Regions from separate parts of the Homo sapiens genome. Here all the other regions are linked to region 4. The links are contacts of gene promoters, found by promoter capture Hi-C in blood cells and fetal thymus (Javierre and others, 2016). All regions are on one chromosome and are shown on one strand. The core of a region is centred on a gene start or on the middle of the fragment in contact, and the rest is flanking DNA. Distances in the headings are between cores, read along the strand shown.

Region 1 (6,833 bases), core at 2,311-4,810, 300 kb after region 4:
ATAATCCCTCCCAGTTCCTAAAGGACTGAATCATATTTGACAACTCAATACTCAAATTGGTCTGTATTTGCCAAATACAAGTCCTAGTTACATGGAAACTTTCTTCTTTGTGCTCTACTAGAGTTAATTAAAAAGCTAGATCAGAAAACTCTTACCTGTGTTGCCATCTCCACTCTCCATAGATGGTTTACTGGTTTCTGACGGATTGTTCATTCTTGAGTCTGCAATAAATCAGAGGAGAATAAGGTTTTTAAAAAACTGGGGATGGAGATGGGATTGAGGAGGCAAAACTGTGGCAGAGAAAAGGGTTAACTAATGTTATAGTCATATAGTTTAAGAAGACCCAGTGTATACATGTCTGGCTAAAATACTAGAAATTATAATAAAAGGTTATCTGGAAGAAATTCAAAATTCCCCAGACCCTGAAGGGATTCACAAATAAACTGTCTTTTTAAATAATTTTAAGATTCTTTAAAGAAAGACAGCAGAACTGTAACCTGAAGAAAATTAGAAAGCCTGATATGTAAAAGGAATAAATGCTTTTAACATGAAGTAAAACTGGAAAGGGGGGAAGCACCTCACATAATAAAATGTTATTCCCAAATAAAGTATCTTTTTCTATATGCAATGATATTCATTCATTATAACCAAAACAACCCACTGGTAATCTTGATAAAAGATGGGACAGTAACTCAACCTATGAACTAAAAGAAAACACGTCTAAGGTAAATTATCTCTAAATTTACTCCCCTCCCCAACCAAACTAAACAAGTCAAAGTGAGAACATATTAAATTCATACCTCAACTATAAACCAGCACAAGAAGTTGTACCGTAAGGCATAACAGATATAGCTAATAATTTCAAAACTGCATTACAACCACACCCACTTAAAGTAATACTACCTCAATATCCTAAATGAAACTGCTAATTTGAGTTTATCATTTCTGGGTTATCTACTTAATGAAGGTTTATTTCCACAGTAAAATGTTTTCATCAAGCAATATTAGGTATCCCAGAAAATACATTAAGAGAAGAGACAAGAACTCTGCTTTTCTTCTAAGTCTTTGAAAGGGTAAGAAACGGAATATACATAAATATATCTCTTATTCTACTACTGTAAACTCAAACTTAGAATATTTATGATCAAACAAGTTTACTGTCAAATAAGTTCTGCCTTTACCCACATTAACTTATTTAGTGGTTAAATAAGTTAAGAACCATTTAACTTTAGTTATTAACAGAGAACAAATATTTAAACTATACTGTTTTTGACCAAAGAGCACATTTTTTCATCTGCTTAAACATCTAACTAGAAAATCAAAACAATCACTAGACAGAATTCTCAACCATGTTCTTTACAGTCGAATTATCCCCATGCATAACAGATGAGAAAAAAAATCAGGAGTCTTTCTTTTATAAGTTTCATTTCCAACAAGAAGATGTGTAATAGCTTTTCCAATACAGTAAAAGTTTCTGTAACTGATGCTTGTCTTATGGGCTTAGGCAGTTCTGTCATAACTTTGGTTTGGTCTTCTAATGTTCAAAGGGTTAAAATTCATATGTTTGTGGTCATAAATGAGGGCAGTTCTACAACTTCCTTCTTCTCACTGTCCAGAGAAATTTAAATATCATCTGAAAGCATACTAAGGTTTGAAAGGAACAGGTGTACAACTTAGTGAAAAATCAGCTTTCTGAATGACAACCAAAATCTCATGAAAGTCAACAGAGATCACAACAAATGTAATAGAATATACCATTAGCATACATACTGCTCCATGCTTCCTTTAAATGAATTTTAAAGGAAAGTGGAAAAAATGATCAATCAGTTAACATTCATAAAAAGAGTAACAGTTTTCTCACATATGTGGGCACCGCAGAAATAAGCATAATTCTTAACAAGTCATGAGCCTGACTTTGTACAATTCATATTCTAATTTTCCCATCTATAAAGACTATGTCACAGGTATTTTAAGTGAATCATCTCAGATTCTTCTACTGAACTGTCAAGAGCTTCAAAAGCATTTAACAAAATTATCTCACATACACACAAAAATAAAACATTACTTCACATACACACAAAAATAAAATTGCACAATGGGAAGACTGTTTAAATAATACTTACTATTAACTGAAAGTAAGAGATGTAATTTCTACTTCTAAAATGATGTGTTAAAAATATTCCAAAAAGGTATTTTTCTTTCCTTTTTTTGAATTGTTAACTAAGTAAATGTCAAAGAGTAAATACAAGATTGAATTCCTGACATAAATTTGTTGTTTCTGTCATTCACTCTTTACATAGTGGCTTTTACTGTGCTGGGCAGATACTGCTACCCTGGGTTTAGGCCATGCCTTATGCATAAGAATTCAAACGTTTTCAGAAGTATCATTTTACTTTATCTTTGGCAACTATGAAGGTGACAGGAGCAGCTTTAATTTTCAAGTGCAGAAAATGACAATATAGGAAAAAAGTCATTTGCAAAAGTTTTAAATGTAAGATATCCAAGTCCCGGAGTTCATATCATTTAACTTTCCAGGTGACTAGAGTAACTAAAAAAGTCTCAATAATTCTGCATATAAACAGACATAACTCCACACAAAATATGACCACCATTAGCCACCATATATCTAAAAATCAAAGTGCCTTGATTTATTTGAAATCTTCATCACCAAAGATGGTTTTAACAAATTTAAGCTGGACATCTTCCACTCCAAAAGGCTTGCTGTTCTACAGAGAAAACTCTAAAAAGGTTTTCCAACATTTAAAGTTGTAGTTATCTAGAGTATATAGTTGATTTTAAAAAAATTAAAAAGAGGACTAATCCTAGCAAAAATTTGAAAAGTTAATAGTTTCTAAAATCTGGAAATCGATCAACAGATCTGTTGCAGCAACCAGTACAATTACCCTCTTTATTAACATTTATAAAAACTATTCTGCATTGTGACTCAACCTTATTTTTCACTGAGCATTTTGGTTTTTGTATAAGACGTTCTCATTAGGTATGAAAAACATTTTTATTAATATGTATATATTATATATGTACAGTTCTATGCCTTGTTTCAGATTTAAGATGTTTTTATAACTACATGAAATGTTCTCAATAGGAATTTCCAAAAAGCAAAAATATTCATTCGAGCTGAACTCTAAATTAACTGTATTTACTAACGATACCCTCTGAATCAGAAGAGCTAGTCACAGGGAGGGACCTACTGCAAATTCAAGTAAGCTTGTGCTTTGCAAATGCTTTCCTCCTTCCCTGCTCAGTCCAACTCTCCCCCTCCCCCGCCACAGGCTGCATATGCGATTAAGCATTTATGCATAGTCAACCCGACACACTCTATTTCCATATTAAAGCTTCTAAGAAAAGAACTGTGCTGGTACCCACCTAGAACATAGTCACTGCAGTCCAGCATTGCTGTGAAATCTTCTAGAGGAGCAGAGAGTCCAAACAAGGAAGAAACAGGTAGCAGTTTGGGGTGGGGAAAGAAGGTACTACTATTTCTAACAAATCTACAGTATGTTCTTAAGCGAAAAGAGGGGGGTTGCGTAGGGTGGAAAGTGGATTAAGGGGAAAAGCAAAATACAACTTCTGTTACACCATAGCAATCTTCAACTGAATAAGGAAACTTCAGTTGCTCAGAGGAGTTTTAGTCTCTCCTACCAGCTAGGACTGACATTGTCAAGGCAACTGAAGCATGAAAAAGTTCCTCTTTTTGTAATAAAATAGAAACAAAGATTGCAGCTGGCAGTTTCCATAATGAAGCTTAATCAGTATGCGCGTGATTAGGGCCTTATGCAAATCTCTCCTCGTTAGCACAGCAGCCAGCACTTTGAAGTCCATGAACAATTCATTTACAGAATATACTGAAAGCACTCCCTGCATAATTTAAATCGTTGCATAAATATTTATCAGGCTATTTGCATATTAATTGGCAGTGCATGAAGGGAAAAATTATCTCCTGAGTGCCAGCATAATAATTAGGAGGATAAAATGAGACTTCTTCCAATGGCCTGGCTTCTTGGACCTAACTGGAGATAGTACCAAGGGAGAAGGGAGGTACAGGAGACAGAGTTCTGTTAAAATGCCACTGAAATGACACGTACAAATTAGAAACAACCCTACAGACTTAAGCACCTTTAATCTTATTCCTGCTGGCAACAATGACTTCAGTAATAAGAGGATTTGCAAAAAGCTTTCTACACAATCCAAATAATCCCAAGGAAACAATTAGCAAGGTAGAAGCAGAACACAAGGCTGTCAAGATGGTGCTAGTCTACTGATAGGGAATTTTCCAATTCTTAACACACTTCCGTCAAGAGAAAGTCCCACTTTAAAACGAGGCAACAGTAAACCCAGAAGCAGTGCAAGGTGTATAAAGTATCTTAAAGAGTATAGAAATTCATTATCTACAAATCTTTTTATATTACCAAATTAACAGAATAGATTAGTTGAATGCTACATATTATGCAGTATCCTTCCCCCATGAAAATAAATCTCAAGTAGAAAGAAGACAGTTTGTTACTTAGAATCTCTATTGTCAAAGGGTGGGCCATGTAAATTGTGGAATTACTTGGTATTCTCAAGTATATTTCACTTAATGAACATACATACATATATATAATCCTTACTAAACTATATGTTTATTCAATTTAAAGTATATTTACAAGGTAAGTCATCAACCCAAAATTTTTTAGGCATTACAATGACAACAGCCTAATCATCACAGACAATTCAGGAGATTTATAAAATCTCCATGGAGTAATAAGCATTATTACCCCTTTCTTTCCTTATATATTATTAAAGTAAGGAAACTGAGGCACAGAGAACTAAAACACTTTATCCAATGTCACACTAGTAATTCGGAATCAGGATTTAAAACTAGAATTTTCTGATATCAGAATCTGTGCTCTTGGCTATTCCTATGCATTATGGATGAGTTAAACACGTAGGGAATTGCTGAGAGGTGGTAAAGCAGCAGACTGAATGGTTTGTTTTCCGTGTAGTGAAGAAACCAGTAAACGGCAGCAAAGACATTGTGTTTAAAAGTCAGGTGTGTACAGATACACAGAAGAGTGCACTAGATTTGAGGAGAGTTCTGAAAGGTGTCAGCCCATTAATAACTGTTTTTATTTAGAACTAGTCTTCAGGAAATGAAAGACAGATTTTAACAAGGGGCCTTTAAAAAGATTCCCTTGCAAGTCAGTAGAGGACCAAAAACCTTAAACTTTTGGATCAGCACTCTGCATTACCAGTTTTTCTGTTTTACTGAATCACAAAATGCTTATGAGGAGAGACTTTGGGGGAGAAACTTAACACAGCCATTTAATACCTGTAATACCTGTTTAAGTTCCTTCCTTCTTCGAGCCTTAATTTTATCACCTATAAAATGATGATATCCCTTTCATGAGGTTATTGTGAGATAAATGCTTTCATGCTTCTCAGACAAGAGCGTGGACTGGAGGAATGTGATGCAGTTGTGCCAGGGCAGACATCAAGTCACTGGATAAACATGTCCATCTTTTGAAAGCATCAATCTTATTTAATATTTCACACCACTTTGTATTAAAATAAGAATACATTATAGAAGAGAACACAAATTTCAAATGAGTTTTTAAGGTAGAATATGTTGGATTATACAAATTCTCCTTGGTGAGAAAAGATGAAAAGCAATGATGAATGTGACTAGATTACAGTAGATATCAATAAATGTTTATTTCCCTCCTCTTCCGCCTTTACGAAATTTAAAATTTATTATTTGCATTTATTATGGGATATTTCTGCAACTTACCATCTGCCCTTTTCTACTTTATGTAATAACATCTCTAAACTACCTTTCTACTGTGAGTGTGGTCTTTCATATATTAGCTAAGGATGACTTGCAGCCAGACAATCATTGCTAACAAAGGAGTGTGTCTGTACCCAACAGGAGCAGCACCTTCCTAGTGAAAGAGCCTCCTCCTCAGGCTAAGGGAGTCCCACAAGACCTGTAGCAGGGAGGCTATAGTTTACCAGCCCACACAGGCTACTATCTAGAGTGGGACCCCCCGCTTCCCCTCTACTGCAAAGCTCACCCAGAAAAAAAAGCTCACATTGCTACAGTGGGAAGGAAAGGCAAGAAAAGTCCCTTTCTACCACCCTTGACCTAGGTACCCTACTAATTTTAGAGGGGAAGTTTAAATACCAGGAGTTTGTCCAAGCCTCTACAGATGGATTGGGAGAGGGACTGTCACCGTCTCTTGCCTGTACTCCCCAACCATGGCACATTTATGTCCAAAAGAAGAAAATGACAGCTTTTCCCACAAAGTTCAAATGTCCATTTCACTTGGTCATCTGTCTGAAATAATAGCAAAGAATCAATTAGACTAAAACTTAACCTAGAAAGAACACCCGTTGTACAAAGGAAAATCATTTTTGAGAGGTTTGTGGGATTGTCAGTCATTCACACTTGAGCATGAATTAATCCAATCCCACTGCTTTCATTTAACACCTAGTTGAGGAGTTGATTGTAAGGCAATGGTTGTTTCTACTAGAGAAGAGGCCAATAAATGATAAAATAACTGATGTTTAGAGGACCTGGATTGGGGGTGGGGTAATGTGGGCAAAGGGTTCATAGAAGGTAGTAATAATAGGAAATAGTAGTAACATATGGAAGTATAAAAAGGAGCTGAAAGGGCAAATTCAAACTCATGTATTTCACAATTACGCCTAAAATGTAGCCTTTTTTTATTTTCTAAAAGAGGGGACAAACGCTCTTCCAGGACCCAGAATTCACGGTTAACACTACTAGTTTTTTTTTTTTTTTTGAGATGGAGTTTGCTCTTTTGCCCATGCTG
Region 2 (6,633 bases), core at 2,429-4,928, 370 kb after region 4:
AATTTCACCTTACAATAGAATTACTACCCAACCTGATTACACCCATCACAATGCATTCAGAAAGCACTGGATATTTCCAAATCCACCTTCGGAAGATAATTTGGTACCATTAAGGAGATTTAAAGGGTATGCTCCAGGTTTCAAAGGCAACTATAAAAAAGGCAGAACCTATGGCATGTGTTCATCTATGTAACAAACCTGCAGGTCCTGCACATGTATCCTGAAACTTAAAATAAATTTAAAAAAATGGCAGAATCATATAAATGCAAACTCTTCCCAAGAGAACTATTGTGAAGGTGGAGCTTTCAACTGGATTTCTGTGCATAAGCATGCAAGTGTGTCAGTTATATTTGTTTAAAAGTGCAACCATTCTAATCACACCTTGTATACACAACAAGTTGTAGAAGTATACAGGTCTGTGGATTTAACAGTGTAGCTGCAGGCTTAGCATTGACATAAATTGAAGCTTGAGTTTTAATACCTAAGGTAGGGTTTCTCAACCTAAGTACTACTGACATTTTGGACCAGATAATTCTTTGCAGAGAGGGGAGGAGACTGACTTTGTGCATTGCAGGATGTTTAGCAGCATAACTGGCCTCTAATCACTAGATGCCATGAGCACCATTCTTCAGGTTGTGACAATCAAAAATGTCTCCAGTCATTGCCAAATGTTGGGGGGTGGGGGAGGGTACGGCAAGAGACTGTCCCTATTTGAGAACCACAACCCTAAGAGTACTCCTCAAATGAGCTATATATATACATTTCACTACTGCATGCACTGTCTCATAAGTTTGATTTTTAAAAATATACAAATATTTTAAATACCTAAAAGAGTTATCAAATCTTCTTTAACCTTCACCACATGCTGCTGCCATTAGTGAATTTGGCAGCCATCTACATTGCTTGGTTTTAGACACAGGCTAAATCAATGACTCTGAATAACCTAATTACTAACTTAAATTACTAGCTAACAATGACATTTCATAATGGTTTAATAGAAGAAACGCTAAACTTGTGAGGCAAAAACTTAAGTTATCTTATCATTGTGAACTGTCCTGTTAATTCTATCTCTAAAATGTATCTTGAATCCCCTGCTTCTCTGCATCTTCCACAATCTTTGTCTCAGCCACCATCTCTCATCTAGACTCAGACCCTTTAAACTGTTCTCTCAGCTGCTACTCTAGACTCCACCAAGCTACTCATTCAACTAATACTTACTGAATGCCTGTTATATACAGCATTACACATCCTGAGAATAGATCAGTACAGGACTCTCTTACAAAATTCTTTATCCAGTGAAATTTACATTCTAGTATGAAAGTCAGAGAAAAATAAAGTAGGGAAGGACTGGCAGGGATGGGGTCTGGTATGGATTCACCAGTTGTATAAAGACCTGAAGGAGGTTAGGAAGTGAACTACATGGGTATCTGTGAGAAAAGCATCCTAGGCAAACGAGACAGCAAGTGTAAAGGCCCTGAGGTGGGAGCATGTCTCGGAGATTTACTCCGAGTAAAATGGGAAACCGTGGGAAGATCTGGAGCAGGAGAGACATGCTCTAACATTTTAAAGGAAAAAAACTGGTAACTGTCTAGAATAGGCTGTTGGTGTGAGTGCCTGGGCCATGATAAATTTTTTTAAAAAAATTTCTTAAGAAAAAAGATAAAAAAAGAATAGCTGTAGGGCTGGAAGGGTGGAAGCTGAGACTAGCTAATTCAAATGAGATTTATACCAGGGTGGAGACTGTGGAGATAAGAAGTGGCTGAATTTTGGATATATTATTAATCACAGTGATATTTTAAAAACACAAACTGGACTGTGTCACTCTTCAAAAGCCCTTCAATTGCCATTTTCTTTTCAATGTACTTTATATAAAATACAAAATCCAATATGGTCTAAAAGGCTCTATATGATCTGGTTCCTCCTTAACTCTCCAGGTTCATCTTACTCCTCAGTAATCAAAATATGTTCTGGCCACACTGACCTTTGAGGTCATCTAATACCCCAAATTCCTTTCCACTTGGGGGCCTTGGTGCATACTGCTCACTCTGCTTAGAATGCCCTTCTCCACTCTTTGCCCTACCTACATGCTCTCATATGTCAGTTCTCAGCTTAAAATTCATTTCCTCTTAATCACATGGGGCAGCATGAAAAAAGAAAAAAAAAAACACTTCCTTAAAGAGACCTTTCCTGACATACCACTATAAATTAGCTGTACTCCCTTTGCCCATTATCTTCTCTTAAAGTACCTCAAAGTACTTTTCCTTGATAGGACCCATCCAAGTTTGTAATTGCAACATTGGTTTACTATATATAGTGGTTAATATTTGTCTCTATAGACCATAAGGTATAAAGAGCAGAGATCACTTTTGTTTCACTTACCATCATAACCCAGGATTGGCCACAATACCTGGCACATAGCAATTACAAAAAATAACAAGTAATAGAAGAGCTTTCATCCCAGCTCTGCCACATATGACCTACTCACAGGTGTTCTCAAGATTTCAACATATCTTCCCTCCCTTTTATTCTTAAGACTCTATGAAGGTCACAAGAACTAGAGTAAATGAGACAAAGAAGTAGGAAATCACAAGGAGTCTTAAGAATAGTTTGTCTGAAACAGCCAGAGAGTAGAGTAGTAGGAGAGATGAATGAGGGAGGGCCTTGACTGTTGGGGTATGAAATCTGGACTTTATTCAGCAGCCAAATGGAGAGATACTGAAGGCTTTGAGTAGTAAAATATACCAATCGGAACTGTGTTTTTGGAAGTTTATATCTATCTGTGGTACATAACTCACTGAAGAGGCTAAATGCAAAAATCTGAATTAGAAGCCAACAGGTGAATAGGGCCTTTTTTTTTTTTGAGTCGGAGTTTCGCTCTTGTTGCCCAGGCTGGAGTGCAATGGCCCGATCTTGGCGCACTGCAACCTCTGCCTCCCGGGTTCAAGCAATTCTGTCTCAACCCCCTGAGTAGCTGGGATTACAGGCATATGCTACCACGCCCGGCTAATTTTTGCATTTTTAGTAGAAACAGGGTTTCATCATATTGGTCAGGCTGATCTCAAACTCCTGACCTCAGGTGATCCACTCGCCTCGGCCTCCCAAAGTGCTGGGATTACAGGCATGAGCCACCACACTCGGCCGACATGTTTTTTAAAATAGCTGGATATACAAAAACATATCTTTTCTTACATTTTCATTAATAAAGGTTTTTAGTGTTATTTGATAGCTACACTAAGCTTACATTTGTTTTAGTTATGTTTATAAAGAAAACAAAAAAGTGTTCCAACAATGGAAAACACTTTCATTTTCTCATTCATTACTGACAATGCAACCAGATTAATCTTCCAAAAGTATGGCTCAGATCATATTACTCAAAACACTTCAGTGGCTCCCCACTGTCTACTGAATTAAGTCCAAACACCTTAGCCTGATATTTAAGACTCTACATAAACTGGCCCCAATTTATGTACTTTTCTCTCCTATATTCTAGCCAAATTGAACTACTTTTGCTCCAAACATGGCCAGCTTTTTCTGCCTCTACCAGACCTTGCTTCACACTGTTTTTTTCTTTCTTAAATGCAACCCCACCCTCCATCCTTAACCCACCTGTCAAAATCCTACCTTCTTTATTGAGGGCCCAGCTCCCTTGTTACTGCCACTCTAAGCATCTTTCTTCAACCCACCTCAAGTACAAAATCCATCCCCAGGGGCTTTGTGACTCACCACATTCTACATTGAATGATTTTTCTTCATATGTTTGATCTCCTCAATTAAATTATAAACAACTTCTAGCTCCCTCTGTGAAACTAAGAGGGTACGTATGTACACAGAAGCAAGCAACTATATTTATAACTTAAACTGTTTAAGAACTTAGTCCCTTTGAGGGCAGATACGGTTTCTGATTCATCTTGTGTTTCCCGCAATTCGCTGAACAAAGTACACTGAATAAATTAGTGTTGAATAAAACACTCAACAATTTTAAATCAAATATAAAATTTGCCCTTATCTCTGGGGTCTCATTAGTTAAGCCACACTAAAAGAAAGAAGCACCAGACACAGTGGTGGGCACCCCTAGTCCAGCTACTTGGGAGGCTGAGGTGGGAGGATCACTTAAGCTTAGGAGCCTGAGGCTGCAATATGCCATGACTGCACCTGTGAGTAGCCATGGCACCTCAGCCTGGACAATATAGTGAGACCCCATCTCAAAAAAAGCAACATTTATTGAACACCTGCACTGTAATTAGCTGCTGTGCTAAGACTGTAGAGATGATTAAAAATAAGTATAAAACACCATCCCTGTCCCAAGAAGGTTCCTAAGGTTCTATTCTTAGGTACACGAAACATATTTTCAAAGCAATCAGAAAAATACAAAAGTGTTATCAAACATAATCAAGGCTGGGCACAGTGGCTCATGCCTGTAATCCCAGCACTTTGGGAGGCTGAGGCAGGCGGATCACTTGAAGTCAGGAGTTCCAGACTGGCCTGGGCAACATGGTGAAACCTCATCTCTACTGAAAATACAAAAATTAGCCAGGCATGATGGCACGTGCCTGTAATCCCAGCTACTCAAGAGGCTGAGGTATGAGAATCGTTTGAACCTGGGAAGCGAAGGTTACAGTGAGCCAAGCCAAGATTGTGCCACTGCACTCCAGCCTGGGCAACAGAGCAAGACTCTGTCTTAAAAAACAAAAAACAAAATCAAATCCTAAATTGAATATGAATTTCCAAAGAGCTGGTACAGATAACAAGTGCCATGGGAAATTGAGTGGAGAGATCAAAGTTGGTCATCCTCAATGCAAAATGCTTATCAGAAGCTTGGCTAGAGGGCAGGAAGAGGCAAGATTATCTAAAACAATGTGTTCCCCTAGACTGTGCCAACAGCTATATCTATCCCTATATCTTGCTCTTAAAAAGAAAAATAACCCATGCAGAGGACCACATCTCCAACCTACAACCGTTCATGCTCACTGGCCCCATTATCTTATGCAAGAATCCTCTGCTAGTGCACACATGAAAAATCCAGACATCTAAAAACACAAAAATAGTTTTCCAAAATAAAGAATCATTTTCTGCATCTTTCCTTTCATGAGTGGCAGGGGAGAGGGGCAGATCTCAAAGGTGACCATTTAAAAAAACCTAATAAAATTCTAAAAATAAACTGTAACTAGTCCTTATAGCGCTTGCTTGACTCATTTTAACAATTACCTCTTTAAACATCAGTAATCAGACAAATTTTAGATATGTTATGGTTGACTGGGAACCACTCTCCTATTCAAATGTTTCAAATCAGACAAGACATTTATAAATCAAATGAGAAATACTATAAAATAGTGGTTTAAAGTTGAGACCCTGAAGCTAGCTGGCATGGGTTCATAATCCTAGCTAAGTATTAAGTTTCCTCTGGGCTTCAGTTTACTAATTTCTAAAAGGAACAAAAAAATATAGTTAATTCATACTACTGTCATGAAGAGCTAATGCATTAAAATTTTAGTGCATTAAATGCACTAAAATTTTAAGTATACTAATCTAGCATATAGTGAGCAACCCAAAAACTGCTACCTACTCTTATCCAAAGTAATTAAGGGCACAGTTCAGTCAAGACTACTCAGGCAATAACATAGTAGTAAACAAAAAGTGCCAGCTTCAAAAGTGAAAACCGAACAACTTTCCTATACAGGAAATTAGCGTCAAAAGAAATGTAGAACATGTGTATATGTGGAAACTCTGTATGACAGAGCTTTGGCAATGCAGGAAAGCTGAGGAAAGAGGGAAAAATTCAACAAATCATGTTGAGAGAATTAGAAATCCATATACTTAAACAATTAGATCCTCATCTCATACCATACACAAAAATCAACTCCAGGTAGACTAAGGATCAAAAGGTAAAAAAGCAAACGTTAAGAAAACATACGAGAATCTGAAGATCTGGAAGAGACAGCTTTCTTTAATAACACATAAAAAGTACAAACCATAAAGGAAAAGGCTGATAAATACAATAGTATTAAAATTAAAAACTTGTTTTCATTAGGAGTCCATTAAAAAATACAAAGATGAATCACAGACTGGGAAAGATATTAGAACATACATAACCGAGCAAAAAAGAATTAGAATTTAAAAATTCCTAAAAATCAATGAAAGATGTAACGATTTTTTTAACAAGCAAAATATATTAACTGGCAATTCATAGAAGAAACACAATTAGCCGGGTGCAGTGGCTTACGCCTGTAACCCCAGCACTTTGGGAAGCTGAGGCGGGCGGATCACGAGGTCAGGAGATCGAGACCATCCTGGCTAACACAGTGAAACCCCATCTCTATCAAAAATACAAAAAATTTGCCGGGCGTGGTGGCGGGTGCCTGTAGTCCCAGCTACTCGGGAGGCTGAGGCAGGAGAATCGCGTGAACCCAGAAGGCGAAGCTTGCAGTGAGCTGAGATCGCGCCACTGCACTCCAGCCTGGGCGACAGAGCGAGACTCTGTCTCAAAAAAAAAAAAGAAACGCAATGATCAATAAGCATATGAAAAGATACTTAATATCATTAACAATAAAGAAAATACAAATTATACCCTTTATGAGATGCCATTTCATGTGCAATGAGGCTGGCAAAATTACACTATCTTGGCAAAGATGTGGT
Region 3 (7,063 bases), core at 1,483-3,982, 390 kb after region 4:
ATTTATCAGTATGTTTGTGATAGTGGTCATGATGCTAATTACATGGGACATGTTATAATGAAGGCTGTCAATCCTGAAACTTAATTCAAGAAAAGAGTTTAGGCCGGGTGTGATGGCTCAAGCCTGTAATCCCAGCACTTTGGGAGGCCGAGGCGGGTGGATCATCTGGGGTTGGGAGTTCGAGACCAGCCTAGCCAACATGGCAAAACCCCATCTCTAATAAAAATACAAAAATTAGCCAGGCATGGTGGCGCAAGCCTGTAATCCCAGCTACTCGGGAGGCTGAGGCAGAAGAATCTCTTGAACCTGGGAGGCAGAGGTTGCAGTGAGCCAAGATCACGCCACTGCACTCCAGACTGGGCGACAAGAGCGAGACTCCGTCTCAAAAAAAAATAAAAATTAAAAAAATAAATTTATACCTGTTCATACTTACTTTTTCACTTTGAGAGTTCCAAGTCATTAAAAGGTTTGAAGATAATAAGAAATAGTTTACATAAATCGACAGATTCCAACGTGCTCAGCAATTATATACATTATCTCACTTAATCCTAAACACAGCTACATGAGGAAGGGCTTTTACAGTTAACTTCTCAGAGCCTAGATTTTCTTAAGTGCCTAAAACAATGCCTAATACAATAAGCACTGAAATATTTGTTGAAGGAATCAAGCTACTGGTCAGTTATTGAAACATTAACCGGTCAGATTCCTAGGCCAGTATTCTTAATTACCATGCAATAACGTCCCAAGTAAAAATATAAAACAGAGATATGAGTAGAAAGAGATGAGCATATAGTTAAGTAGCGGCACTGAAGAACAGTAGATTCTGTCTCAATTAGTAGACACTTGCTGAAAATTCAACTGAGTTAATAAAGGTAGAATTCATTTTGGGAAACAAAGGAAATAAGAAAGAAAGCGGGGGAGAGAGGCAGGTGGAAGGAGGGGGAGGGAGAGAGGGAGAATGAGAATATACGTATGTCTGTATACATTGTGTATGATTAATAGTTTTCTGAATTTTGCCCATACATATACAGATACAGCATTTATCCTACGCAAAAGGAGACATTATAAACACATCACTGTATCTGAAGTATCATTTTCATAGCAAGGCAGTAAGTTACAAACTCTGGAAGGTTCTTCATTTCTTGTTACTTTGCTAGTAAAAACAACATCTCACAATATGGAAAGTTTCACCCATATAAACAGGTTAAGCTGTGACTCCTGATTCGGGCTAATTTCACATAAAAGGTAAATAGGTAAAATTATGCCATGGAAGAAAGCATACATTTGCTTCTCTCAACTATCTTAGGGCAAAATCTTGTCAATTCTATAGCTAGATCATCCTGTGAGATGTGCTCAAACACTTAGTGCTTCAATGCGTCACCATGGTAAGAAAGCTGGTCTTAGAGTCTTTCTGTGATTTGGGTTTCTTACACCATGTTTTTCAAGTACCAGCTTTTATAGCTTTGCAGAATCATCAAGGGCAACAGGTCCTTCTATGTGTCTATAACAGGAAACACATTTTCCAAAGGTATACACTTCTTCTTGGTTCTCTTCTATCACTGCTCATAGTGCTGAAATTCTCGTGCATGGCATTTATTTTTTGACTGTCACTAAACAGGCCGAACAACTCAAAATTGCGGCTTTGAAACTCTGAAAACCAAAAGTATTAATATTGGTGCTTCTTAGTTAAACCATAATTAATGTTCACAATTACTTAATAAAAGTGTAAATGAACAAGCAGCACTTGGATGCTTCATCATCTTTAAAAATATTTTAGCACCTAACAGGTAACTTAGGTCCAAAATCCTGATAAAAGCAATTGGCAATAACAAAGCATTTCTACCATAAATATCTTCCTTAACCAAGGCATTTTTTTAGGCACTTAAGAAAACTTAGGCTCTGAGAACTCTAAAAATCCTTCCTCACATAGCTGCGTTTGTGATTAAATTAGACAATGTATCCTTCCTTTAGTCAACTAAAGTTAGCATGAAAACTGGAATCAAAACCCTCAAATTATTTTTAACACTACCACTTTCCAGTTATGTTAACTTTTTGAAATTACCTAACTTCGTTGTACCTCAGTTTTCTACACCTATAAAACACATAACAATGATGCCTACATAAGTGTTGACATGAAGATTAAACGAGACAATTCATGTAAAACATTAGAACAGTGCTTAGCATACCAAATGGGCTTCATAGGTGTTAATTAATATGCCTAATATTATAAACAAGCAAGTACAGTAATAAAAATAAACTGGAAAACCTGTTATTTTATATTGCCCAGAACCATTCCATCTTAAGCTAATACAAGTGAAGGTGTATGCTCATTAATCCTTCATCACATCCAACAAATCGTGCTGTCAACTTCTTTATCCACTGAAAAATTGCTTTCAAATTCTCGAAACAGCATCACTTCATCAGCTGAAGTAACATTTTGCTGGCATCACTGTTTACAGCCCAGTAGTAGCTAGAATCATAAAAGGTTCCTGATTAATTCCTTCCTTTTAAAACGAAATATTTAGTTATTTCACCCGGCACTAAAAAACAGATTCTACAGACCTCTTTGAGTCATGCCCTTATGAAGACAAATAGATTATGACAGAAGACATCATTCTGCTAAGGTTATTGCTTTACACTGGCAAATCAAAGGGAGATGTGTAAAATAGGAGAGGAGAGTTATCTCCTGGGTGAGAACTTTTTCAGACTATTTATTTATTTATTTATTTATTTTTAGATGGCGTTTCACTCTTGTTGCCCAGGCTGGAGTGCAATGGTGCGATCTTGGCTCACGGCAACCTCCGCCTCCCGGGTTCAAGTGATTCTCCCGCCTCAGCCTCCCGAGTAGCTGGGATTACAGGCACGCACCACCACATCAGGCTAATTTTGTATTTTTAGCAGAGACGGGGTCTCTCCATGTTGGTCAGGCTAGTCTCGAACTCCCAACCTCAGGTAATCCGCCCACCTAGGCCTCCCAATGTGCTGGGATTACAGGCATGAGCCACCGCGCCCGGCCTTTTCAGATAATTTCATTACAGAACAAGGTGTCCCCAAAGCAAAGGTTTCAGAAGCTGGGTTCTGAATGGATTTCCACATAGAAATAACGTTGGCAAACCTCTAGGGAAGGGCTTCAAACCAACTGTAAAAGGTGAACTTCATTGGGACACCAAAGGCATATATTAAATATGTTTATGCAGAAGCACAAGAAAAAGTGAATTAAAACAATAGTAGATTTTCAGTTATCTAGGAAACACTTATCTTGGAAGAAACTAACAGTTTCCACACAAACTTAGGCTAAGTATAAGCTCATAATCATTTATCTGTTGTCCTGTGTGTTAAATCAGGAACAGCAGGAATCCCTTCTCTATTTATTTCATTATTTTAAATATTTTTTCCACCTTTAAAGTAGTAAAATTACCCACGAGTATATAAAATACGCTTCCTCAATTACCTCTAAAACAATGGCCAGTATTCAACTCTTACTCTTTTTTCTAATATTTTAATTTCTTCACTGCCCTACCAAAGCATACATTTTGTAATTCTTCATCCTTTTGTTTTATATCGGACTTAAAGAAGGTTCTGTCTTTACAGCAGAGGCTTCTAGTCAGGGTTCATATCTTCACAGCCCTTATTCTACATGAATTGACTATTCATACACTTCGACTACTGGGGTATTTGTTATGTACTACTAATGTCTAAGAGAACTTGATATAGTAAGAAAAATTATCCCTCTATGTTCCATACAGGCTAATACTTTTCTACCATATATTATGTTAATTTTATTTGTAGAGTCTTTCAGAAGGCAGAACCATAAATATTTTATATAGTTAAATCTATCCATCTTTTCCTTTTATGGCATTTGAGTTGTGTGTCATGTCAAAAAAGCCTTTCCATAAAGTCCTATTCATAGCTTAAAGAAAAAAAAAAAAGCCTTTCCATCCCCAAAACTAAATAAAAATTATTTGTATTTTTGTCTTAGTATTTTTCTGAGTTTTTCTTTGAACAGTCTAATCTTTAATCTCTCCACCATTCTTTTTTGTGTACGGTGTAAAGTATAACCCTGACGACATACATTTTTTGTGTTTTTCAAATGGATGGCCGGCCAACTGTCCCAACACCATCTGGCCCTTCTACCTAAAAAATCAATTTCAATCATTCCAAGCACCTAAACTCTAGCTTAATGCTGAGAGGAAACTTTCATGTCTGTATTAAGGTGATCACTTTTTAAGTATATTGTTCTTCAAGGGGCTATGTATTCTGCTTTTAGCATTCCCAGCACTTGCTAGAATGAGCATAAAAGTGAGGGTTGGGGTGGGAGTATCAAATTTGACTACAATGTCAAAATACAACCATTAAGCCACTAAAGCAGTTTACAATGTGTATGTATACCTGTGGTACGAATTAAAATTACCCCTTGAACTGCTGCCCATGGACAGCACTTTTACATATGTTCTTTTACTCTTGTAAAGCAGTGGCATCTATACCAGATAAGCACTGTATTTATTATAACTAGGAGTTAACTATGTCTTGATAGCATGGCAAAAAAGATATGGGGAGTGAAGATTCACAGATATTCGAAATTTAAACTATATCTCCTTATTTAAAAATACTTTTAAAGTAGACTATTTAATCTAGTGTTCTTTTTCTGTCAGTTGACAAATGGTATGTCACAAAAAGAACACTACGTATGTCAGAAAAAGAACACTAGGTTAAATGACTGAATGACTGAAACTGACATTTTTGGTAGAAGGGATAGGTAGTGTTAGGACAGTTGGCTGTCCATTTGGGGGGGAAAAAAAGTTTGTCAGGGTTACACCTTACACCATACACAAAAAAGAATGGTGGAGAAAAGATTAAAGGTTAAAGATTTTTAGAGTGTGTGCCTGGATTCAGAATAGGAAAGGGGAGCCTAGAGAACAAAACTTTTCAGGATGTGCCCTGCACTGTTTAGGGCAAAGTACACTCTAGCCACCCATCTGAGTAGCCAACTAGTCTCCCTGAACAACATGAAAATCTTATCACTCTACCTTCAATGATGTGCACCAACAAATGTAATTTCAAACCCAATGCAACCCAGTATTTACTCTGAAAACATTTCTTGATAACCTACCCTATGCCAGTAACCTTGTACTAACTGTGAACAAAACAGGTATTTATGGAAGATTGCCTAAAGAATATGCAGTATCTCCATTCTTCTAATTATTCCAAAATCTTTTCCCTTTTTAAGTCAGACCATTTTGAATAGTCCTCACTCAATATCCTCATCTCCCACCAATTAACTGCCTTAATGAAGGTGCTCTGGTATGATGCATTTGGCCTATACAGGGGCATTCTGAAATTTGTTGGTGTGTCCACAGTAGGAAGACTGTTGAGGGCACTGTTTATTACATTACATAGGGTCCTGTTTATAAGGCCTCTGAAGAGAAGTTTCCTTCTGATCTTAGTACCAGGAATTGTTGTGCTTTTCTTAAAAGTTTGTTTGTTTTCAAATTTTATGGGCATAAATTGACCAAGTTTTCCTTGTTTGCATCATCTACTAAGAAGTTTACAGAGTATTTGGGCCCCACCGGAAATAAATATTAGATTTTTATATTAGGTCTTTTATATTTTTATTTTGCATTTCTTGCCATACAGTTGATAAATCTCTATAAACCAACTTGAGAGACAAAATGAAACAAATAAATAAATGGATAAAATTTACATTAATGCATCTCAAAAAAATTTTTTAATTTAAGGGATCAGAAAAAAGGTCACATGAGAAATCAAGGGCTTACTCAAGAAATTAAGAATATATGGGCTGGGCATGGTGGCTCACACCTGTAATCCCGGCACTTTGGGAGACCAAGGCGGGCAGATCACTTCAGGTCAGGAGTTAGAGACCAGCCTGGCCAACACAGTGAAACCCCATCTGTACTAAGAATACAAAAAAATTAGCCGGGTGCGGTGGCACGCACTTGTAATCCCAGCTACTCGGGAGGCTGAAGCAGGAGAATCGCTTGAACCCTGGAGGTGGAAGCTGAAGTGAGCCGAGATCACGCCACTGCACTCCTGCCTGGGCGACAGAGCAACACTCTGCCAAAAAAAAAAAAAAAAAAAAAAAAAAATATATATATATATATATATATATATACACACACACATATATGGATTTAAAAAATAAAACCAGTAACTCAATTAACTGGAGGAACAGGGGAAGAGGAATTAAGGACAAAAGGGGAAAGAAAAATTAAAGAATACCCCCAAATAATGTATTTGTAGAAATCAGACAAATGGTAGTACAAAATGACTTTGTGTAAACCTAGTCAAGCTTACCATGTAAGTCACAAAATATTTACAAACATTTCTTATTCCACAGACATCACTCAAAATGGTAAAAATAACATACCGGCAGATGAAAAAGAAAATACAAAAATTACTTGATAAAAATGGCCAAAGGGTACCGGAAAAACAACAAACAAGACCAACAGGGCTGTTACTGTAACCTGTTTCTTTTCTGAGCTCTTTCCTCATCCATCCCAAATAGTAGGACAAAAACTTATGCATGCAACAATATGAATCTATTAACTTCTCAACATTCTAAATAACCCAGCAGAAAGTCTAGGTAGGCGTTTACACTCCCCAACACGCATAAGTATGTTCTCGTTAGATAGCCTCTCTCCTTCAAGGTCACTGTCATCTTTTCTCACCACTGACAGACTTTACAATGCTGTCACTGCTGTATGTTAACCCTAGTTCACAAGTATCATCACCATCAAGCCATCTCTACTCAGAAGTTAGATACCTTCCTCCTTATTGTCAGCTTCCTTAAATTTCTTGCTCCCCAAGTCCCAGAGAACTCCAAGCTTGCTAGGAGGTTAGGTGAAATCCAGCACTGAAAATATTTCAGGATTAGTCTTATCATTTCCAAGCCCTTGTGTAGGAAATAGACCCCTAGACTGCTAAAACTCTATTATCTTTCCATTTCTCCTTTATCCCTACCTCCCATATATTTGACTTAAAAATTAAAATTGCCTTTAGAGAAAGCAGAGTAAAAAAAATATGCTCACTCCAGTTCTCTGCTAAG
Region 4 (7,303 bases), core at 1,564-4,063:
TACTGAGAAGTAATATAACTTAATTTCTTTCCAGATACAGTAGCCCTTTCATGTCCCAAAACTGAGTTTCACCTCTCAAAAGAGGGTTTTACTCTGAGATTTTCAGAAACCCCCAAATCCAACTCCTGCATATCATGCTTCACCATGAAAAGTTTACTTCCTGGCTAAGAATGGTCACTTCCCTGGCCCCTAGATTTCCTCTTTACTTTCTTCACTAGCAGTTGCATGTTGTTTTTTTGTTTGTTTGTTTCATTTTTGTTGTTTTTTGTTTTCCAGGCATTTGGACAAAGAAACTTCAAAAGCAGCCACTGTCCAACCAGCAAATTGATGGACTAGGCTTAGTGACCTACTGGATGTGAGACGCAGGGTGATTTGTCAGGCTTCTGGCTGGCTGAGCTATTCCCTCCCTGCGTCCCTCCCAAACCCTAGCACGGGAGTGATTTTGGTATCTTGGTGGAATCCTGCATAAGTTACTACACATCTCAATAAGGGAGGGCCTTCTCTTTTACTGCAATCCCCTCCACCCCCCAAGCCACACAGGAAGTTGCTCAGCTGATAGTTTCAGGGCCTCTGCCATACACTATTCCTTCCTCATCTGAGGGGGGAGAAACTGCCTCTGTGGAAGGAGACCCTCCTTGTTTTCCTAGAACAAAGTTGACACTTGCATTTGGCCCTCCAGCAGCAACCTGCTTGAAGTCTAAGAGTTGCTTTTCTCTTATCTCCAATCCTTTTCTTCAAGAGGTTAGACAGGCCATACATCATAGTGAATCTGCAGCCTGGGGCCTAAGGCAGTTTGTACACTTCCAGAAGAGGGAAGCCACTTCTAAAACAATTTCTTAAGGAGACTTCACCCAACCCAAGAAGCTGGGTGTTGCCTGGGCCATTTCCCTCCTCTGCCCTGAAGCAGTGGCCAGCTCAGAGAGAACCCTGTTGTTTTGTGTTTGTGTGATCTTTGGGTGGATGTGTGCACACCACCTGCTGAGCTTCGCTGTGTGCGTGCCTCACCGCCAGCCCTAATCTGCCAGAGCTTCCTGGCCTTGCAAATGTTTCTGTGGAGGGTCCATATTAGACTCCAGTGGTTCTTGCAGTCTATAAAGTCTCCTTGAAGGTGATTCCCTGTTCCTTGAAGACAACTGGCTGGGCTGGATGCCTGAATATAGCTCCCTGACTTCTCTAAAGGACAAACTTATTGCCCCTTTAGAGAAGTCATGAAGCTTTGCCGGCAAGCACAGAGTCTAGCTTAGAAAACACAACCAGGGCCAGGAGTGGTGTGGCTCATGCCTGCAAATCCAGCACTTTGGGAGGCCAAGGCTTAGAGGATCACTTGAGCCCAGGAGTTCAAGACCAGCATGGGTAATATAGTGAGAACTTGTCTCTACAAAAAATTTTAAAACTAGCCAGGCATGGTGGTACACACTGGTAGTCCCAGCCACTTGGGAGGCTGAGGTGGGAGGATCCTTTGAGCCTGGGAGGCAGAGGTTGCAGTGAGCTGAGATTGTGCCACTGCACTCCAGCCTGGGTAACAGAATGAGACCCTGTCTCAAAAGAAAAAAATAAAAAGACCACCAGGGCCCAGGCACAGAGCCTGGAGCGGGGAAGAGATAGCGGAGTTAACTGTGAATCCTGATTGCACTGACCACAGTCTAGTGAGCAACACATGTTTCCTTTTGAATATGAGTGGGAATCACCTTTAAAACTATATAACATTTGCATCTTCTCAAAAGCCCCAGGTCCTACTAAGATTGACTTAGGGCTACATATCAGGTCTCATTTTCAAGGAGGAAACACAGGGAAGCCTCAAGATGTGCAGAAGAGAGGGATGTGGGGAATACACCCAACCACTCCTCTGCTGAGGTTGGAACAGAACAAGGAAAGTCCCCGGACCTCCTCTCAGCAGGCAGAGAAGTGCGGGGCCTCCCTCTGGCAAAGCCTGCAGATGTGGCCAGCATACCTCCATACACACAGCTTCAGAGGCAAGGGTGTCCAAGGGAGTCTTAAGTTTTATCAGAAATAATGTCATTCGACTGACCAGTAAGGGGAGCTTTCAGAAAGTTATGGAAGAAGATGCGACAGACACAGGAAGGACTTCAGAAGCAAGAAGACAACTGGACTCTCTAAAATGCCACTCCGAAAGCGAAAAGGGAAGCCCACAGACCCACGAAGACGTGCTGGCCTCGTGTTGCCAGTTCTGTTTCTCTTTCAATACCCATCTCTTCAGATTGAAGGGCTTCTGCCTTCTTGCAGTTTTTGCTGACACGTTTACCCATTTACAAACCTTGGCTGCACCTAACTTTTTTTTTTTTTTTTTTTTTTTTTTTTTTTTAGCATTTAAGTTCCTAGCCAAAATACCCGGGCCTCTAGGAAAGCCCTTTTCTCTCCCTCTGAGATCTTTCCTTACCAACCCCAGCCTCCCAACCCGGGTGTCCTAGGTGGGACCAGGGACGATCCTTCGGAGTTGGTCAAGGAGGCGTCGGAACAGCAGGCATTTGCCCTTCTAGTTGGCAGCAGCGATGAGCCGCGTGCTCCATGCTCAGGGCAGGGGCAGCCGCCCGGGGAAGGGGCGCCCGATACACCGCTCACCGCTCAGCCCCGCGTCTCCCTCCGGGGTCCTTTACCTCCATGTCCTTCAGGTGCCGACTCTGCGGCAGACGCACCCGCTCGCCCGGGCCGGAGCTCACGATCCCCGCTGTCCCCTCCGCTCCCGGCCGTGGCCAGTTTCGGGCTGCGGCGGGCACAGGGCGAGTGGGCGGTGGCGCGCGCCCGGCTGCGCTCGGCTGCGGGACTGCCCCGGCCGCGGGGGCCCTGCGCGAGAGAACGAGGAAGGAGGAGGAGGGAGGGAGGGAGGAAGGGGAGGGGAGGGGAGGGTGGGGAGCGGGGAGGGAGGCCGACGATCAGGGTTTAAATTTAGACGCAAATCTAAACAGATACTGTCCCTCCCAGGGCAGGACTCAAGAGCGGGAGCCACGACTCCATGTGCCCAAACATGGGGATGGGCAGCCACCGGGCCCCTCTGTCTCGCGAAGTTTCTCAGGACCCTGGGCTTTGCCACGGTCTCAGTCCTTCTCAACGTCTCCCTCCCTTAATGCGCCTTCTTTCTTTTTCCTGTCCCTTCAAGAATTAGAGTGGTCCTTTAATTCTTTTTGTTTCCTCTCTTTTCGATTTCCTTCTTTTGTGTCCATCCTTCCTGCTTTCCTTCTTCCTCTCCCTCTTTTTAAAATTGCATTACTGTCATACCTGGTTTCCCTGCAGTTCTTGGGTGGAGTTCGAGGACCCTCCCTGGTGGAAGGCGTTTGTGTTCTACCAAAAGAGGAGCCCTTCTGACCGAGGCTTCAGAGCTCAGCGTGGCGCCGACGGGACCACCTTTCCCTTCTCACCTCTTTTCCTCTCCACCTTCCAGGAAACCACTATCTATCCATCTATCCATCTATCTTCTGTATACGAGTAGAAGGAGGAGGAGGAGGAGGAAAATCAGGAATCCACGCAAAGTTTTCCAAGCTCCCTGAAGTGGTAAATCTTTTCTTCAAACCTTGCTTTGACTGATGCATTCGGTTTTGTGGGAATTTTGGCTCCCACAAGCTGCTTGCTAAAGGGCCTCGTCTCCATTCCTGTTAAATATAGCAAAGGGCAAGATGCTCAACATCTGATTCCCATAGGGCCCAGCATAGCAACCTTCCTTTAGGGCCATCCCGGCTGGGCAGCAGAGACCGCATGGGAGGGATTCGGGGACTGGAATCTGCACCAGGGTCACTCCCTGCTACCCGGATCCCGGCCCCCTTCAGACCCTTCGGCAGAGAGAAACAGGAAAATGCCTTGAGAGACCTGTGAGTGCCAGGGTATTGGCTGGGTATATGACGCCTCTGGGTTATCCCACAGCATTCTCACCCGCCCAACCCCAGCTCAACCAGGGGAGGGGAGCCCCATCAGAGGTGGGCAATGGGACAGGTGATGGTGAGCACTGTGAAGAGACATGTGGAGAAACAGTAGAGAAAAAAGGCTGAGAGTCTGCTCCTGCTACAAAGACTACCCTGATTCTGGTTATCCCGGCACCATCTTTGCACTTTCAGGCACTTAGATTGCTGCTTTGGGTACCAGTCTTAGAAATATGGCCTCCTTCCTGTCCTAGAACTTTCTAAGGCCCAACTTTCTAAAACACTGGCAGCCCTAATGCCAGAGTGGCTTCTAGTTCTTTAGCTTAGCTAAGCATAGAGGAAGACGCCTGGTTTTAGGAACAGACAGATTGAGGGCTGAATTCCAGCTCTGCTACTTTCTAGTTGTATTTTTTAGACAAGTCACTTAACTGCTCTGATTCTCATTTTCCTCACCTATACAATGTAGTAGGCACTCTGCAAAAAGTGGCTGTTTTTATCATGCTTAGCCCCATGTACAAGCTTCAGATGAATAAGAGCCTGATATTTCTTTTATTTAGAGACAGGCACTCGGGGACCCAGTGAAAAGAGCCCTCACTCCCAGGAATTAATAGTGAGGCCCCTCCCAGTCCAGCCACATGGCTGCTCAGGTGAAGACTCGAGAGCAGAGTCGGCAGTAAGGAAGGGTATTTACTGGTAACCTGCAAGGCACACTTTTGCTCGTGCTTCTTTCCTTTCTTTTTAAAGGTGCAGGACGTAGTGATGACTGCATAGTCTACTATCAGGTCTTCTAACTCTGCTCCACAGGGCCTTTTCCTTTCTCCCTCTACCTAGTCCTCCTTTGTGCTCAGAATGGGGCTGCCCCAGCACAGGTTTCTGGCTTCACAAACAGGAGGGCGGAAGTGCTTACCCAGAGGAAACCGTTAGGCCTAGATAACATCAGTCACCCAAGGTGACTTGCAGCTGCTCCCCACGCCCTGCTTAGGCCTCTCTTGGCTGAGAACAGATGACCACAAAGCAAACAAGCTTGGCCTCCACCATGCTCCTGGGTCCCCAGTGCAGAGTTTAATGCTGCTCCAGAGCTATTTGGGCCCCAGACTGGGACTTCTCCTGAGGGAGGGGGTGGAAAACGGGGAGGGAGGGACCAAGAGGTAGCCCCGAGCTGTGTTTAGGCAGCCATGAGTAGGTGTGGTGTGTGTACTCCCCTTATCTTCTTCTTCTGTCCCTACAGAAGATCTCCAGGAGCCAGAATAGCAGTAACTCTGCTGATAAACACCCAGGTTTGCTGGGTTATCTGGGATTGTAACTGGCTGCTCTGGGGGCTGGGAGGAAACAACAGCCCAAGGGGAAGGGAAAGTGACTTTCCGAGGAGTTGGTTCCCCTCTCTCTCTGGAGGTCTGGCTGGCTAACACGGAACCACTTCCTTCAGTCTACCCTGGGCCTTCCCCTTCATATATCCTGATAGCCAGAACCAGCCACGCAATAAGTAGAGGTCATCAGGTAACTAACAATAAAAACACCAGGCTGGGCTCATGCCTGTAATCCCAGAACTTTGGGAGGTGAGGCAGGTGGATCACAAGGTCAGGAGTTAGGGACCAGCCTGGCCAACATAGTGAAACCCCATCTCTACTAAAAAAATACAAAAATTAGCTGGGCATGGTGGCGTGTGCCTGTAATCTCAGCTACGCGGGAGGCTGAGGCAGAAGAATTGCTTGAACCTGGGGGGCAGAGGTTGCAGTGAGCCAAATTCTTGCCACTGCACTCCAGCCTGGGTGACAGAGCCAAGACTCCGACAAAAAAAAAAAAAAAGGCCAGGTGCAGTAGCTCACGCCTATAATCCCAGCACTTTGGGAGGCCGAGGCAGGCGGATCACGAGGTCAGGAGTTTGAGACCAGCCTGGCCAACATGGCAAAACCCCGTCTCTACTAAAAATACAAAAATTAGCTGGGCGTGGTGGCATGTGCCTGTAATCCCAGCTACTTAGGAGGCTCAGGCAAGTGAATTGCTTGAACCCACAAGGCAGAGGTTGCAGTGAGCCGAGATCGTGCAGCTGCACTCCAGCCTGGGCAACAGAGTGAGACTCCATCTAAAAAAAAAAAAAAAAACAAAAAATAAAAAAACAAGAACACCAGAGATACAGCTCAGCCAAGGGAGGGGCGTATGGGGAGGTATGGGGAGGAGCCAGGCATATAGAAGGCCCTCAATAAATATTTAGTGAATGAGGCCAGGTGGTAGCTCACACCTGTAATCCCAGTGCTTTGGGAGGTGGAGGATGGTTTGAGCCCAGGAGTTCAAGGCTGCAGTGAGCACTCTATCCTTGGCAACAGAACAAGACCTTGTCTCTAAAAAAATAAAGTAAAATAAAAATAATTTGGCGAATATGTGCGTGAATGAATGAACAAGTGAAGCAAATTAGGATCTTTCCCTTTAAGTCAGAGACAGAGTCTTTCAGAGATGGGTCTCCCATGGAAATAAGGACCCAGTGGGAGAAAAGATCATGAAAGGCCACAATAAGTAGTAACTTAATTAGCTTTCAAGCAGAATTGCAAAGAGGTCTAATCAATCAGCTGTTTATAGTGGACACACTGTACTGCTGATCATCTATTTTAAAAATGAAGAGCAAGAAGCAAATATTCTTTTACGACTACAAATACTACCTACTATGGTATAGGTAAATGCATATATAGGTAAAAATTACCTCATATGGTATTACATGAAATATCATCTATATAATATAGTTATATTAATATAATATATAAATATATACAATATAAATATATAAAATAATATAAACATAATATATATAACATTTTACATAATACCATTCATTCCTAAATTCTGGGAATCTGGCAAAACAAAATATAATGAAACACACACACACACACACACAAATCCCAATTCATTTTGCCGTAACTGTCATTGAGGAATAAATTTGAATTACATTGAAATGAAAGCACAAAGTCTGAAGTGTTTTTATGTCTTTAAGAACCTGCAATGGAAAGTTTCCCAAAGGCAGATGAGGAAATTGAGGAGAAAGACAGCACAGCAGCAGTGGGACTGCAGCGGGAGGATATTGGAGTGGTGGAGAAGGCAGTCAGCATAGGCTGGGGACTTCATGAGGAGAGCTTTTGACTAGGCCTGTGGGGTAGCAGCCCTGCAGAGATCAGGAAATTGGCTACACAGAGAAATTGAGCAAATAGATATTTAGATACCTTGAGGACAACGGGAGCCAGATTCCTCACTGATGGGGAAGGGATGTACAAATATGCAAAGGAAAAGGGCTAGAATGAACCCTGGGATGTTGCATTGGAATAGGAGGTATTGGTGTGAGGTCATGGTTTTCAGTATACATAGATAGATATGGAAGTAAATGTAGATATAAATGTGTGTACATGCATACATATATTTCCTGGTTTGATGCACTGAGAAAGCCTGGG

What was found. The method cuts DNA at HindIII sites, captures the fragments that hold promoters and counts their contacts. A CHiCAGO score of 5 or more calls a contact.
Region 1: a fragment that was not itself captured here is called in contact with the fragment with the promoter of RCSD1 in region 4 in 1 of 17 cell types (total B cells); the score reaches 5.0 in total B cells.
Region 2: a fragment that was not itself captured here is called in contact with the fragment with the promoter of RCSD1 in region 4 in 1 of 17 cell types (neutrophils); the score reaches 5.4 in neutrophils.
Region 3: a contact is called between a fragment that was not itself captured here and the fragment with the promoter of RCSD1 in region 4, in 1 of 17 cell types (neutrophils). The highest score is 5.6, in neutrophils.

What each region holds. Positions count from the first base shown.
Region 1 is chr1:167,325,858-167,332,690 of GRCh38, reverse strand. POU2F1 (POU class 2 homeobox 1) reads right to left here. Exons shown (of 16, transcript NM_002697.4): 2 at 156-221. Among named protein-coding and RNA genes, the nearest start is that of POU2F1, 110 kb to the right of the region's middle. RefSeq lists an enhancer at 2,882-4,974. The HindIII fragment of the contact is 409 bases long and covers 3,356-3,764 here.
Region 2 is chr1:167,259,745-167,266,377 of GRCh38, reverse strand. The region is part of intron 1 of POU2F1 (POU class 2 homeobox 1); the gene reads right to left. It overlaps LOC124900412 (a long non-coding RNA gene), which reads right to left. Exons shown (of 2, transcript XR_007066718.1): 2 at 1-6,633. Among named protein-coding and RNA genes, the nearest start is that of POU2F1, 42 kb to the right of the region's middle. RefSeq lists an enhancer at 2,000-2,089. The HindIII fragment of the contact is 879 bases long and covers 3,239-4,117 here.
Region 3 is chr1:167,236,814-167,243,876 of GRCh38, reverse strand. All of the region lies in intron 1 of POU2F1 (POU class 2 homeobox 1), which reads right to left. It overlaps LOC124900412 (a long non-coding RNA gene), which reads right to left and starts at 2,260. Exons shown (of 2, transcript XR_007066718.1): 1 at 1-2,260. The HindIII fragment of the contact is 7,155 bases long and covers 1-6,309 here.
Region 4 is chr1:167,625,742-167,633,044 of GRCh38, reverse strand. It overlaps RCSD1 (RCSD domain containing 1), which reads right to left and starts at 2,813. Exons shown (of 7, transcript NM_052862.4): 1 at 2,616-2,813. The coding sequence starts at 2,621. RefSeq lists enhancers at 2,027-2,096, 4,615-4,664, 4,675-4,844, 4,925-4,984 and silencers at 2,637-2,856, 2,877-2,956. The HindIII fragment of the contact is 3,174 bases long and covers 1,217-4,390 here.